4 separate regions of the Homo sapiens genome follow, and regions 1, 2 and 4 are each linked to region 3. The links are contacts of gene promoters, found by promoter capture Hi-C in human tissues and cell types (Jung and others, 2019). All regions are on one chromosome and are shown on one strand. The core of a region is centred on a gene start or on the middle of the fragment in contact, and the rest is flanking DNA. Distances in the headings are between cores, read along the strand shown.

Region 1 (3,153 bases), core at 61-2,560, 610 kb before region 3:
CTGCAAACCCTCCCAGATGGGTGGCGTTATCAGCCCGATTTTACCCGAGAGGCTCCTGAGGGAAAGGGACCTGTCTGAGGTTGGTGACAGACACCCAGTTCGATCCCATCTGTGGTGCCGCCAGGCCGCTCCCTTTTCTGCTCCTCTCCCGAGAGGCTGCAGAGTTCTTTCCCTCCCAGCAGGGTCCTAAGGACCCCGGCGGTGCTCCAGGGGAGCCAACATCCCCTGCTTTGGAGGACGGACGGGTCGGGTCGCAGTGAGCAGCTCCGTGGTGTCCCCTAGTTCTACACTCAGACCAAGAGAGGGCTGTGAGGGCTGTGCTCTTTTTTTTTTTTTCTTTTTGAGACGGAGTCTCGGTCTGTCATCCAGGCTGTAGTGCAGTGGCGCGATCTCGGCTCACTGCAACCTCCGCCTCCCGGGTTCAAGCGATTCTCCTGCCTCAGCCTCCCAAGTAGCTGGGAGTACAGGCACCCGCCACGACGCCCGGCTAATTTTTGTATTTTTAGTACAGATGGGATTTCACCATCTTGGCCAGGCTGGTCTTGAACTGATCTCAGGTGATCCTCCCGCCTCGGTCTCCCAAAGTGCCGGGATTACAGGCGTGAGCTACCACGCCCGGCCTGGCTGTGCTCTCTTAAAGGGCCGAAGCAATGCGGGTGCTGGCGACCGACGCAAGGAGGTGACGCACAGGGGACTTAAGGAGCGGACCGCCGCGGGAGGACGCGCCCAGCTCAGGGGGACTCCCTCTGCGCCCCCCACGCTGGGTCTCCGGCCCACGCGTGGCCCGGCTGGTCTGCGGAGCTAGCGCCAGGGCCGCCAGAGGGCGCCCGGGGCGGAGGATGGGGCGGGAGCCGGGGAAGCCCGGGAGGTGGTGGCCGAGTGGGCGCCGCCCCTCTGGGTCTGCGGCTCAGGTCGAAGAGTCGGCTGCGTGGGCCGGGGAATCCGGATTCCGGGGGTTCAACGCCCAGGGGTTCCATGAGCCCCTACTGTTCTCGGACGCCCGGCCGGCCCCGACGCACTCGTCCTAGCACCCCTCCCCTGTCCGGTCCTCCGGCCCCTCCGCCGTCGCCCCTCCGGGGTCCAGCCGGGCGGGGCTGCTCCAGGGTCGCGGCTGGCGCGGGTCCCCGGGCCCTGGCCCTCCGGTGCCCCGGGCCAAGGAGAGAAAACTTGAGCATCCACGCACAGGGGTGGGGAGCAGGATCCCACTCTGAGGGTGCACTGCCCCGCCCTCTCCGGGTCTGCCTCGGCCCCGCCCGGGCCCCAGGCCCCGCCCCCTCCCCTCGGCCGGCCCGAGAGCTCCGGGGGCCGCTGCAGCCGCCCAAGCGCCCGCCATGCGCGCTGCCCGCGCCGCGCCGCTGCTCCAGCTGCTGCTCCTGCTGGGGCCGTGGCTGGAGGCTGCGGGCGTTGCGGAGTCGCCGCTGCCCGCCGTGGTCCTTGCCATCCTGGCCCGCAATGCCGAACACTCGCTGCCCCACTACCTGGGCGCTCTGGAGCGGCTGGACTACCCCCGGGCCAGGATGGCCCTCTGGTGAGAGACCCGGGCATTGGCACCGAGTGGGCACCTAACCCCCAGCTTCGCAGATGGCCCCCGCCCCCGGCGGCCCTGTCTGCTCGCTCCCTGCCCAGACACCACCTAGACAGGCCCCTCCCCTCACAGACGGCCCTGCCAGCCCGAGCCGCCAGAGAGGACCCCGAGCCCCCTGCTGGGAGACGACAGACCTCTGAGGCCACAGGCCGACGCGGGACACCCACCCCTCCTTCTGGTCCCCTACTCCTTCCTCTTGGGGCCTTCCCTGGGTGTAGGTTGGGCCCAGCCAGCCCTTTTCACCCCAGCCTTCAGGGCCCAGCTCAACCCCAGTGGGACCTGTGGTTGGCTGGATTTGAAGAGGAGCAGACAGGAACCTCTGAAGTCCACTGGGGCCCAACGTGGCAGGGATCGACCACGCTGGAGGCTTCCGGGCACAGGTTGGGGGTGCCATCAGCACTGGGCTCCGGGCTGTGCAGGGGAGTCAGACCGGCCCCCCCACCGCCCCCGTGCTGGGGCCAGCTCTCTTGGTAGATCTTGGTAGAGGGGCGGGATCCTGTCAGCCAAGGGCAGTCCCCCTTCCTGGAGCCTCTCCCCTCTGGCATCTCTGTACCCCCAGGGCACTGGGATCGAAGGCCACAACCCCTGGTCTGTAGACACCAGAACAGGGAGGAGTCCCTGGCTGAGGTTGGGGGTAAACTGAGAAAAATGACAAGCCACCCTCTTCAACACACCACAGTTGGGCTGGGGGGGTGGAGCCCTGGCCTGGGGAGGCCGCCCACAATTACCACAGTTTGGGAGTTTGTTAGTTCCCACCCCTGTAAGACTTGACACGTAGTCTTCATTTCTGGGGAATTGGCTTAAAGGGGCAGCATCACCCAAAACCTGGGCACTTGGCTAAACCCCCACCTCTGTTATGGGGGCCCCTTCCCCAGGAGAGGGGAGGCTGTGCCCCATGACAGCAGAGCTTGGACCCATCTGCATTCTTAGGGACGCTTAGAGCATGGTTTGGTCCTTATTACAACCTGGGGGTGGAGGAAAGCAGCAGCTCTTCTGTCTAGTCCCCATTCAGAGAGGGACAGGGGCTGGCCTGTGGTCACACAGCCACAGGTCACATAGGTAGGTATCTGCCCACCTAACGAAGGTAACCAGGGAATGCACCAGGTGTGATCCTTAAAGTCGAGGTACTTTTCATCTTTCAAAATGCATTCGTTGGCCAGGTGTGGTGGCTCACGCCTGTAATTTCAGCACTTTGGGAGGCCGAAGTGGGCAGATCACCTGAGGTGAGGAGTTCAAGACCAGCCTGGCTAACATGGTGAAACCCCATCTCTACTAAACAAACAAAAATTAGCCGGGCATGGTGGTGCACACCTGTAATCCCAGGTACTCAGGAGGCTGAGGCAGGAGAATCACTTGAACCCGGGAGGCGGAGGTTGCAGTGAGTCGAGATCATACCACTGCACTACAGCCTGGGCGACAGAGCAAGATTCCATCTCAAAAAAAATGCATTATTCTTCTCTTATCTTTGTCCATGACATAAGCAGGACAGCTTAAGTTATAGAGGGAGGACGTGAAGCCCAGAGAAAGATGGGACTTGCCTGAGGTCACACAGCAGGTCACAGAACTGT
Region 2 (3,134 bases), core at 538-3,037, 570 kb before region 3:
CTTAGGCTGGCCTATCAGACGCTGCATAGTCTGGTCCTGCTGACTTTGGCAGGATTTCTCTCATCGCTGGCCCTGTAACACTTCAAGGGACTGCAGTGATGATGCTTCATAGAATATGCAGTATTCTCTTGTACCTGCATGTGGTACCTGTGTACCTACTGCAGTCTGTTTAGAATTCCCTTTGCTGCTTGTTTGGCGAACTTCCACTCACCTTTCATGGCTCAGTTCCAATACCATCACCTCTGGGAACCATCTCCTGCCTGCCCCAGGAGGACCGGGACCTCCTTTTCCTGTCCTCTTTTCCTTGAACCTGTATATACTTTTTTTTTTTTTTTTTTTTTTTTGAGACAAGAGTCTCACTCTGTCACCCAGGCTGAAGTGTAGTGGTGATTTTGGCTCACTGCAACCTCCGCCTTCCAGGTTCAAGGAATTCTCCCTGCCTCCTCCTCCCTAGTAGCTGGGATTACAGGCACACACCACCATGCCCGGTTAATTTTTGTATTTTTAGTAGAGACGGGGTTTCGCTATGTTGGGCAGTCTGGTCTTGAACTTCTGACCTTAGGTGATCCGCCTGCCTCAGCCTCCCAAAGTGCTGGGACTACAGGCGTGAGCCACCGCAGTCTTAAATGGTTAATGAGGATTAGGAAATCTATCAATTATTCAACAGAGAGACAATGAATGGATCAAGGGATTGGGGAGCTCCCTGACATTACAGAACAAATTCAGTATGCAGTATACTGTGAAAGCGAGGCGGAAAAGCAGGTTTTGTTTGCGAGTCTGACTTTAGGATTGCAGGTGAAACACTTGTGTGACCCTGGAGCTGTGTGGCTAAGGTGCTGCGGGGTCACTGGAGAAAGGTCAAGGGACTGTGGCCCAGTTGGCCCGGAGGTGGTTCAGGTCTCCCAGATTCCAGGGCGGCATTATGAGCCACGTGACAGACCTCCCCTGACTGGCTGACAGTGAAGCATAATTGAGAAGATGGCGGACCAGCAAGGACCTCATCAGAATAGGTCTGTACACAGAGCGGCATAGAGAGTGCAGGAGGGTAGTAGACCGGGCGCGGAGGCTCAAGCCTGTAATACAAGCACTTTGGAAGGCCGAGGCGGGTGGATCATGAGGTCAGGAGATGGAGACTATCCTGCCCAACACGGTGAAACCCCGTCTCTACTAAAAATACAAAAAAAAATTAGCCGGGCGTTGTGGCGGGCGCCAGTAGTCCCAGTTACTCGGGAGGCTCAGGCAGGAGAATGGCGTGAACCCGGGAGGCGGAGGTTGCGGTGAGCCGAGATCGCGCCACTGCACTCCAGCCTGGGCAACAGAGCAAGAATCTGTCTCAAAAAAAAAAAAAAAAAAAAAAAAAAAAAAAAAAAAAAAAGTGCAGGAAGGTAGTGAACAGAACAGCAAGGGGAATGCCGACCCTTTCTCCTGTTGGGGCCAAGACAGAGGCGATGTGGGCAGGGGAGAGGCCGGGGAATGCGCAGAAGCCGACTCCATCTCCGCATTAATAGTGGACTAGGGGCAGGGCTGGATTTTCGGAGGCAGTGTGCAGCTCCCAATAACTAGTTCCATGGGTCCTCTGTGAGCCTAGTTTCCTGGTGGGTACCGAGGGGAGGGCGTCGGAACCGTACGCTCCTTTGAGTGAGGGGAATCCGGGAGGATCCAAGGCAGGGGAAACAGGGCCGAGCGGGAAAGGCCTTGAATGGGGGGCGAGACCCGGCCAGGCCCGCTGGACGCGTAGCACGTCTCCTTGGTGACGGGACGCGTGGCCCGGAAGTGGGCGGCCCTTCTGGCGGGGCGGGGCATCTCTGTGACGCTAGGGGCTGGGCCTCGATGGCGAAACCCAAGCGGCTCCCGGGGGGGTTTGAACTGGCCAATGGGCGAGCTGCCGACCGGGTGTCGGAAAAGGAGGCGGAAGCGGGGAGGAGCCGCTGCCAGAGCCAGACTGCATCCGCCGCGGCGTCTCCATGGCACGACCCTGGCCTCCGACTTCAACGACTTCATAAGGCGGCGTTTCTGGGCGCAGCCGTGTCGCTCCTGGTGAGAGGCCGCCGGCAGGCGGGATCCAGCGCCCTCCGGGGCACCGCGGGCGAGACCGTCGCCTTCGCACCCCCGGCGCGGTCGACCCCGCGGGGCCGTCGGGTCCTGGGTTCCCCGCCGCGTTGCGCTCGTCCCCCTCCTGTCAGAACCTGGGCCCCCGCCCCGCCCACCGGCGCGGGGCCTCTCCTCCTCCCGCTAACGGGCGGTCGGCCGCCTCCTTCCTCTCTTGGCTACCACGGGGCTCTGCCCCTCCTCTGCCGCCCGCGGGCAGGGCTTCACCTTTCTCTCTATGGGCAGAAACCGGTACCCTCCTGCCTGCTGGTGGGTGGCCGTCCCTTCTCTCCGCCGACAGAGGCTCTCCCTCGCTCTGCTGCCCGTCGGCGGCATCGCCCCGACCGCCTCGTCCTCTCCTCGGGCCTCCACATGGCAGTCACTTGTACGCCCTCCGTAGGCAGCGCTGTCCCCCGGGCACCGTCTCCGGCTTGCCAGGGCCCTCGCCCGGCGGGGGGGGGTCCCGCCCGCCCCCTCCCAGCCCGGCGTCTATCCTGCTCAGAACTCTGTTCGGTTTTCCCTCGCGGCGGGGCGCCCGGGGCCCGTGCAACCTCCGCGCCTCCCTCCTTTAAACACTATTGGTCCTCTCGGGCATCTGTTCTTCCGTAACGCCCCTTCTCCTAGGAGACAGTTGTCCGGCCCCGCCCCAGCATCCCCGCGGCTCCCTGCGCGGTTCTGGCCCTCTGGGGCCCACTTGGGGCCGAGCGGTTCTCACCCGCCCTCTCCGCACGTCCGCCGGCGCCTCAGGTTTCCCCCGGTAGCCACCGGCAGTCCTCCGCGTGGGACCCGGGCGCGGTGGTCCTTTCCCTCGCGGTTCTGCCCCGTCCCCTCCCCTTCCTCCCCTCTGCCCCCAGGTCGCTCAGCCTCTACTATTTCCCCCTACTTTGGCAGGACAGTTGCTGTGCGACTTGGACAGTAGAGGAGCGCCTCCCAAGTTTTCATCCAACTGCCAACCCCAAAGCTTCCACCCTTCTCCCCTCAGAGAGGACGTTTGATGCCGGGCCCCTTGAGAGGCTCATTGACAAGCCTGCCCCTCTGGGTCCCCC
Region 3 (3,475 bases), core at 70-2,569:
ACTCAACAGAAACAACAACGATGACAACGACAACGACAAAGACAAGACTACAGGACCTGCTCCCAGAACCCTGGGATGGGCCAGCCCCGGGCCTGCGGAATCCCACTGAATCCCATAACCACGGTGTTACACCAGATTTACAGAAGGGGAGGGCGGGGCTCTGAGAGAAGTGACTTGTCCAAGGTCACATGCTGCACAGGTGCAATATTAACCACTTTGACACCAATAATGAGCTTGCCTTTGGTGAGCACACATATGCAGAGTCCCACAGAATCCTCGCATCTGTCCTGGGAGGCAGGAATACTGATCCCATTTTTCAGACTGAGAAACTGAGGCCCAGTGAGATGAAGGCCCCTCCCCCAAGGTCACAGGAGGGCACATTCCCACCCACACCTGACCCTAGGTCTTCCCATGATGTTGAGTTGCCTGTTACTCTCTGCCCCTAAACGGATAGGACTTCTTCCAATCTCAGCATCGTGGGCCTGGACAGCTTCCCAGCCAGACCCCAGCCCTCTCTCCATCCCCCAGGCCCAGGGACCAAGGAAACAGACCTCCCGTGGAGCAGAAAAGAAACAACTCCTGGCTTCCGGCCTGACTATCCAAACGTGTGAAATGGCCATGAGGGACTCATGGCACCAGCCGCCCATTGCACAGGTGCGGAGACTGAGGCTCGGAGAAGGGGTTGTGGTGGACGCATGAGTCCCTGGGCCTGGGACCCAGGTCGCTAAATGCCCCGCCAGGCGCCAGTCACTGCTGGACAAGGGCAGGGAGGTAGCACCCAGCCGGTGCCTCCTCCCCTCCTCAGCCAGGCAGGCGCCAGGGGAGCAGGGTAACCCAACCAGCCCAAAGGGTGGGCACCGGTGCCTCGCCCCAGGCAGCAGGGCCAAGGCCCGGCTCGGGCCGCACGGGCTCTTTCCCTCTTCCGGTCAGCAAGGGCTCAGGGGGGCAGAGGTGTGCCGCGGCGGGGACGAGGGCAGCAGCCCGGGAGGGCTTTCCCGCGTCCCCAGGCGTCTGCCGCAGGGTGCTCCCCGCCCGCCGCACATCCGGGCCCCCGGCGCACGGCGCGACGCCAGGCCTCACCTGCACCGCCCGGGTGAAGAAGATGCCCGCGTCCGACGCCAGCTTCTTCATGTTGAAGTCCATGGCGTGCCCGCACGGCCGCCGCGCACGGCCCGAGCGCAGCCGGCAGCCCCCGGCCCAGCCGCCGCCGCCAACCGCACCCCGCCCACCTGCTGCGGGGCACCAGCCCTCCGCGCACCCGCCTGCCGGCCTGCCCGCCTGCCCGCCCGCCGCAGCCGCCGAGCCAGCCCGAGCGCGCAGGGCGGGGCGCGGAGGCCGCGGGTCGGAGCCAGAGGGGCGGGGGCGGAGCTGGCGGTGCCGGGGCGGGACGGGACGGCAGTGGGGCGGAGCTAGAGGGGCGGGGGCCGGGCTGGTTGGCGGAAGCCGGGCGGAGTCGGAGGGGGCGGGACTGGCGGGACAGGGGCGGAGCGAGAGGGCAGTGGGGCGGAGCTACATGGGTGGGGGCGAGGCCTTGGCGCGGCCAGAGCGGGGGTTGGTCTGGGGAGCAGGTTGTGCTGGGCAGGGCTCGCTGCTGGGCAGTGCTCGCTGCTGCCCCCATGCGCCTGCCGCCGCGGATTGGGCCGGCCTCTTTTTTTCCTTTTACTAAAATTATTAAAACTGGAACACATGTGCTCTTAGATGATTGCAGGTACACGCCATAATTACATATTATTTGCCATCTTACCAATGCTTTTCAAAAGTTTTAATTGATAAATATATATTTACGGCCTACAAGGTGATGAAATTGTGGAATGATGAAATCAAGTTAATTGACATATCCATCACCTCACCTACTTTTTTTGTGGTTAGAACATTTCAAATGTACTCTTTTAGCAATTTTGAAATATGCAATACTTTTTTTTTTTTTTTGTAGACAGAGTCTTGCTCTGTCGCCCAGGCTGGAGTGCAGTGGCGCGATCTCGGCTCACTGCAGCCTCCACCTGCCGGGCTCAAGCGATTCTCCTGCTTCATTCAGCCTCCCGAGTAGCTGGGACTACAGGCGCCCACCAACATGCCCCGCTAATTTTTTGTACTTTAGGAGAGACAAGGTTTTGCCATGTTGCCCAGGGTGGTCTTGAACTCCTGATCTCAGGCAATCTGCCTGCCTCAGTCTCCCAAAGTCACTAAGTGACTGAGTAGTCACCAATATGTGCAACAGATCTCTAAAATGGGCCTCTCTTGCTTTCTCCTCCCACCACCCAGGCCTGCTGCCTCTCCCCTGTTTGTGCCTCTTCATCTCCGCTCTTTATTCACACCCCCTCCCTCCCATTCCCATTTCTTCCACTCTGTTTCCCTTGGGTTTCCTCCCGTTACTCCTCCTCTCTGACCTCTCCTCCTCTCTTCTGCCCTGACCTTGGTGACTGAGCCGGAGTCAGGCTTGGGACTTGCCCTCCACCGCTGGAACAGCTGTTTGTCAGCCTGGGAGGCCCTGTGGCTTCCCCAAATTGGAGGAGGGTTGGGGTGGCGGTCACGGGAAGGGAGGGGGTTCTGGAGCTGGGGCCTGGAGCCCCCTGTGTGGTGAGAGGAGGAGATCAAAGGTTGGGTGACTGTCAGGGTGGAGAGAATGAGCTGCCCTGGGAGCACAGATGTGTGATAACCTTGAAACCAGCTCCTCACAGCCCCAGGCAAGGAGATGACCTACAGGTGCTCCTGACCCCAAATGCCTTCCCTTGGGGCTCAGATAGAGGCTTTGTACTGGTCTTCACCTCTCCTTGCTGTCTACCTCTAGGTTTCCTCTTTTTTTTTTTTTTTCTTTTTGAGATGGAGTCTCGCTCTTTCACCCAGGCTGGAATGCAGTGGCACCATCTCAGCTCACTGCAGCCACCGCCTCCCGGGGTCTAAGCGATTCTCCTGCCTCACCCTCCACAGTAGCTGGGATTACAGGCATGTGCCACCACGCCCGGCTGATTTTTGTATTTTTAGTAGAGACGGGGTTTCACCATGTTGGTCAGGCTGGTCTTGAACTCCTGACCTCGTGATCCACCTGCCTCCGCCTCCCAAAGTGCTGGGATTACAGGTGTGAGCCACCACGCCCGGCCTAGGTTTCACCTTTGAACCCAGTGGAGAGCTCTGTTCCCAAGCTGTACCCTCTTCTATCTGGCTTTGTTCATCTTTCTATACTTACCCCAGTTTCTGTCACCTATCCCAGCATGGCTCTGCAGGGTGAGCCTCAAGTCACCTGGGGGCTTGTTCAAAATCCAGACCCTGTTCCCTCTCCCAGCCCTGGTTCTGGGTCAACAAGTCAATGGCTCTAACATTAAATCACCTGGGAGCTTTCAAAACTCCACCTACCTGGGCCATCCTGTCATGTACTTGGGCCAGTATGTACATGTTGCCTTCATCAACTTTCATGTCATTCACACATCTGCAATCCCTCAACTCTGATTCTCTGTGTTTCTGTTTTTGTGTTCACTAT
Region 4 (3,251 bases), core at 347-2,846, 590 kb before region 3:
CCTCCCACAGTGCTGGGATGAGAGGCGTGAGCCACTGCACCCTGCCACTTTATATATATACATATATATACACGTATATACGTATATATACACGTATATATACATATATACGTGTATATACACGTATATACACATACACGTATATACACGTATATACACATACACGTATATACACGTATATACACATACACGTATATACACGTATATACACATACACGTATATACACGTATATACACACACGTATATACACGTATATACACACACGTATATACACGTATATACACACACGTATATACACGTATATACACACACGTATATACACGTATATACACACACGTATATACACGTATATACACACACGTATATACACGTATATATACGTGTATATATGTACACATACGTGTATATACATGTATATATGTATACATACATATATATACATGTATATATATTTGTTTGTTTTTAAGACAGAGTCTCGCTCTGTCACCCAGGCTGGAGTGCAGTGGTGTGATCTCGGCTCACTGCAGCCTCCGCCTCTTGGGTTGAAGCGATTCTCCTTCCTCAGCCTCCCTAGTAGCTGGGATTACAGGCATGTGCCACCACGCCCAGCTAATTTTTGTATTTTTACTTTATATTTTTTAACTCATGGCTGAGCCTCTGCATCTCAGCTGGCCTGGGAGGAGGCTTCCTGATCTATGGTTGAGCAATTGGAGGGACAGAGAGGGGAGGACAGGTGAGGAGTCAGGCCGATCCAGCATCACCTCTGTGCTGGGTGATCTTGGGTGGGTGCCATCCCTTCCCTGGGCCTTAGTCTACTCTTCGGTCATTGTGGCTGGTTGGGTATAGAGTGGCCTAGCCTGAGCCCGGCTCACAGTGAGTGCTCACCTGTTGGGGCTGATGTGGTCATCCCCGAAGTCATTACCAGCCTCACCTTGCTGGTCAGGGTGGGCCCAGCCAGTCCAAGGGCTGCTGATGTCCCCCGGCCCTTTGGATCATCTCTTGTGCAGCTGAAACCCTGGCTTAGGGGAAGAGGAACCGCCTGGGAGGGGCTGGGGGAGATCCTGGGTTCCCCTCTGGCACTAACCAATGTGGCCACCAGAGGGCGCAAGGTGGCAGAGCCTGGACTTGGCCAGGATGCTCTCTGCTGGGTTGGGGCCAACACCAGGAAGGAAGCATGGGCCATAGGGAAGCTCCCATTGGTGCTGGGGCAACCCGCAGCAGCTCTGCGTCTTCTGCTCTTCTGATGGGAACTGCAGGCCTCTCCCCTGGCCCCAGAGAGTCGGGCTTCTGGGCCCAGCCGCTGTCTGTCATGCCTGCACTCAGGCAGCTGGAGGGGTGGGAGGGGAGATGGCTCCTGGCCTTGGCCATGGCTGCTTTGGCTTCCACCGTTCCTGCTCCTCTTCCATGTGGCCCCCTGACTTGGTTGTGTGAGCACTCCAGTCCTGGCAGAGCCTGACAGGCACTCCCTGAGGTTGGGGTATCCCTTGGCTCTGTCCTGGGGTTGAGGTCCAGGACCTGGCACGGCTGTGAGAAGGACCTTGGGCTGGAGCTGTGGACTCGGTGCTTTATTCGTTCTAAGATGAAAGTCATTCATTCTGGATGGCTATGACCTTGAGCGACTCACTTCTCTCCAGGCTCCAGGTGTCCCCTTCATTCATTTGTTAACCTTTATTAAGCACCTCCCATGGGCCGCAGTCAGGCCCTGGGGATTCAGCAGTGAATGAAACTGACAAAACCCCTGACCTCATTAAACTGACATTCTTTTTTTTCTTTTTTTTTTGTGGCGGAGTCTCACTCTATCACCTTCTGTCACCACACCCGGCCAAAACTGACATCCTAATGAGGGATGCAGACAAAAACAAAGAAAGATCAGAGGGTGTGAATTGCTATAGAGAAAAATGAGAAGCGGAGAGATACAAAGTAAGATCTGAGAAGTTAACACCTGAACAAAGACGCAGGAGTGGGCCAGGCATAGTTGCTCATGCCTGTAATCCTAGCACTTTGGAAGGCCTAAGCAGATGGATCACTGGAGGCCAGGAGTTTGAGACCAGCCTGGCCAACATAGGGAAATCCCATCTCTATTAAAAATACAAAAATTAGTCAGGTGTGCTAGCGGGCGCCTGTAATGCCAGCTACTCGGGAGACTGAAGCAGGAGAATCACTTGAACCTGGGAGGTGGAGGTTGCAGTGAGCTGAGCTTGCACCACTGCACTCCAGCTTGGGCGACAGAGTGAGACTCCATCTCAAAAACAAAAGACTTCGCCAGGCAGGGTGGCTCACACCTGTAATCCCACCATTTTGGGAGGGCGAGGCAGGTGGATCACGAGGTCAGGAGTTCAAGACCAGCCTGGCCAAGAGGGTGAAACCCCGTCTCTACTAAAAATACAAAAATTAGCCAGGTGTGGTGGTGGGCGCCTGTAGTCCCAGCTACGTGGGAGGCTGAGGAAGAGAATTGCTTGAACCTGGGAGGCAGAGGTTGCAGTGAGCCGAGATCAAACCACTGCACTCCAGCCTGGGTGACAGAGTGAGACTCCGTCTCAAAAAAAAAAAAAAAATAGACAAAAAAAAAAAAAAAAAAGACTTTAAGGAGGGGAGGGGCTGAGCCTTGGGGATAGCAAAAGGAAGAGCTTCCAAGCAGAAGGAACAGCATATGCAAAGGTCCTGAGGCAGAAGCAGGACTGACAGTGCAGAAGAGAGGAGGACCAGTGTCTAGAGTTGATAGAGCCAAGGCTGGGGCCAGAGCAGGGATGGCCATGAAGGCCATTTTGGCTTTTACTCTGAGATGGAGCCCCCAGAGAGATGGAGGCAAAGAAGTAACCATCTAACTTACATTTTTACATGATCACCCTGGCAGAGATGTGGCATGATCTCATGTAGTGTTATAAGATCACACCGGCTACTGTGCTGAGAATAAACTGTAGGCAGGTCCATGGAAGAAACAGTGAGACCAGTTAGGAACCCACTGTAATAATTCAAGCATGGCTGGGCGTGGTGGCTTATGCGTATAATCCTAGCACTTTGGGAGGCTGAGACGGGTGGATCACCTGAGGTCAGGAGTTCGAGACCAGCCTGGCCAACATGGTGAAACCTCATCTCTACTAAAAATACAAAAAAGTCGGGCGTGGTGGTGGGTGCCTGTAATCCCAGCTACTCAGGAGGCTGAGGCAGGAGAATTGCTTGAACCCGGGAGGTGGAGGCTGCAGGGGGCCTAGATCGCACCATTGCACTCCAGCCTGGGCAACAAGAGTGA

The links. Contacts are between HindIII fragments. The study calls those that stand out against the background at their distance.
Region 1: the fragment with the promoter of CERCAM here is called in contact with the fragment with the promoter of SH3GLB2 in region 3 in 3 of the 25 tissues and cell types used here (dorsolateral prefrontal cortex, lymphoblastoid cells and spleen).
Region 2: the fragment with the promoter of ODF2 here is called in contact with the fragment with the promoter of SH3GLB2 in region 3 in 1 of the 25 tissues and cell types used here (lymphoblastoid cells).
Region 4: a contact is called between a fragment that was not itself captured here and the fragment with the promoter of SH3GLB2 in region 3, in 1 of the 25 tissues and cell types used here (dorsolateral prefrontal cortex).

What each region holds. Positions count from the first base shown.
Region 1 is chr9:128,419,547-128,422,699 of GRCh38, forward strand. It overlaps CERCAM (cerebral endothelial cell adhesion molecule), which reads left to right and starts at 1,311. Exons shown (of 13, transcript NM_016174.5): 1 at 1,311-1,528. The coding sequence starts at 1,332. RefSeq lists a silencer at 697-1,596 and an enhancer at 1,857-2,046. The HindIII fragment of the contact is 34,497 bases long and covers 1-3,153 here.
Region 2 is chr9:128,454,219-128,457,352 of GRCh38, forward strand. It overlaps ODF2 (outer dense fiber of sperm tails 2), which reads left to right and starts at 1,788. Exons shown (of 21, transcript NM_001351578.2): 1 at 1,788-2,037. The coding sequence starts at 1,874. RefSeq lists enhancers at 861-1,597, 1,471-1,560, 1,598-2,333, 1,691-1,740, 2,334-3,069 and 1 more and silencers at 1,961-2,270, 2,401-2,500, 2,531-2,680, 2,891-2,940. The HindIII fragment of the contact is 20,941 bases long and covers 1-3,134 here.
Region 3 is chr9:129,027,012-129,030,486 of GRCh38, forward strand. It overlaps SH3GLB2 (SH3 domain containing GRB2 like, endophilin B2), which reads right to left and starts at 1,320. Exons shown (of 11, transcript NM_020145.4): 1 at 1,081-1,320. The coding sequence starts at 1,143. RefSeq lists enhancers at 1-308, 309-872, 1,557-2,296, 2,297-3,036 and silencers at 703-1,212, 1,253-1,682. The HindIII fragment of the contact is 26,388 bases long and covers 1-3,475 here.
Region 4 is chr9:128,437,706-128,440,956 of GRCh38, forward strand. No RefSeq gene overlaps it. Among named protein-coding and RNA genes, the nearest start is that of ODF2, 17 kb to the right of the region's middle. RefSeq lists a silencer at 913-1,086. The HindIII fragment of the contact is 5,750 bases long and covers 1-3,251 here.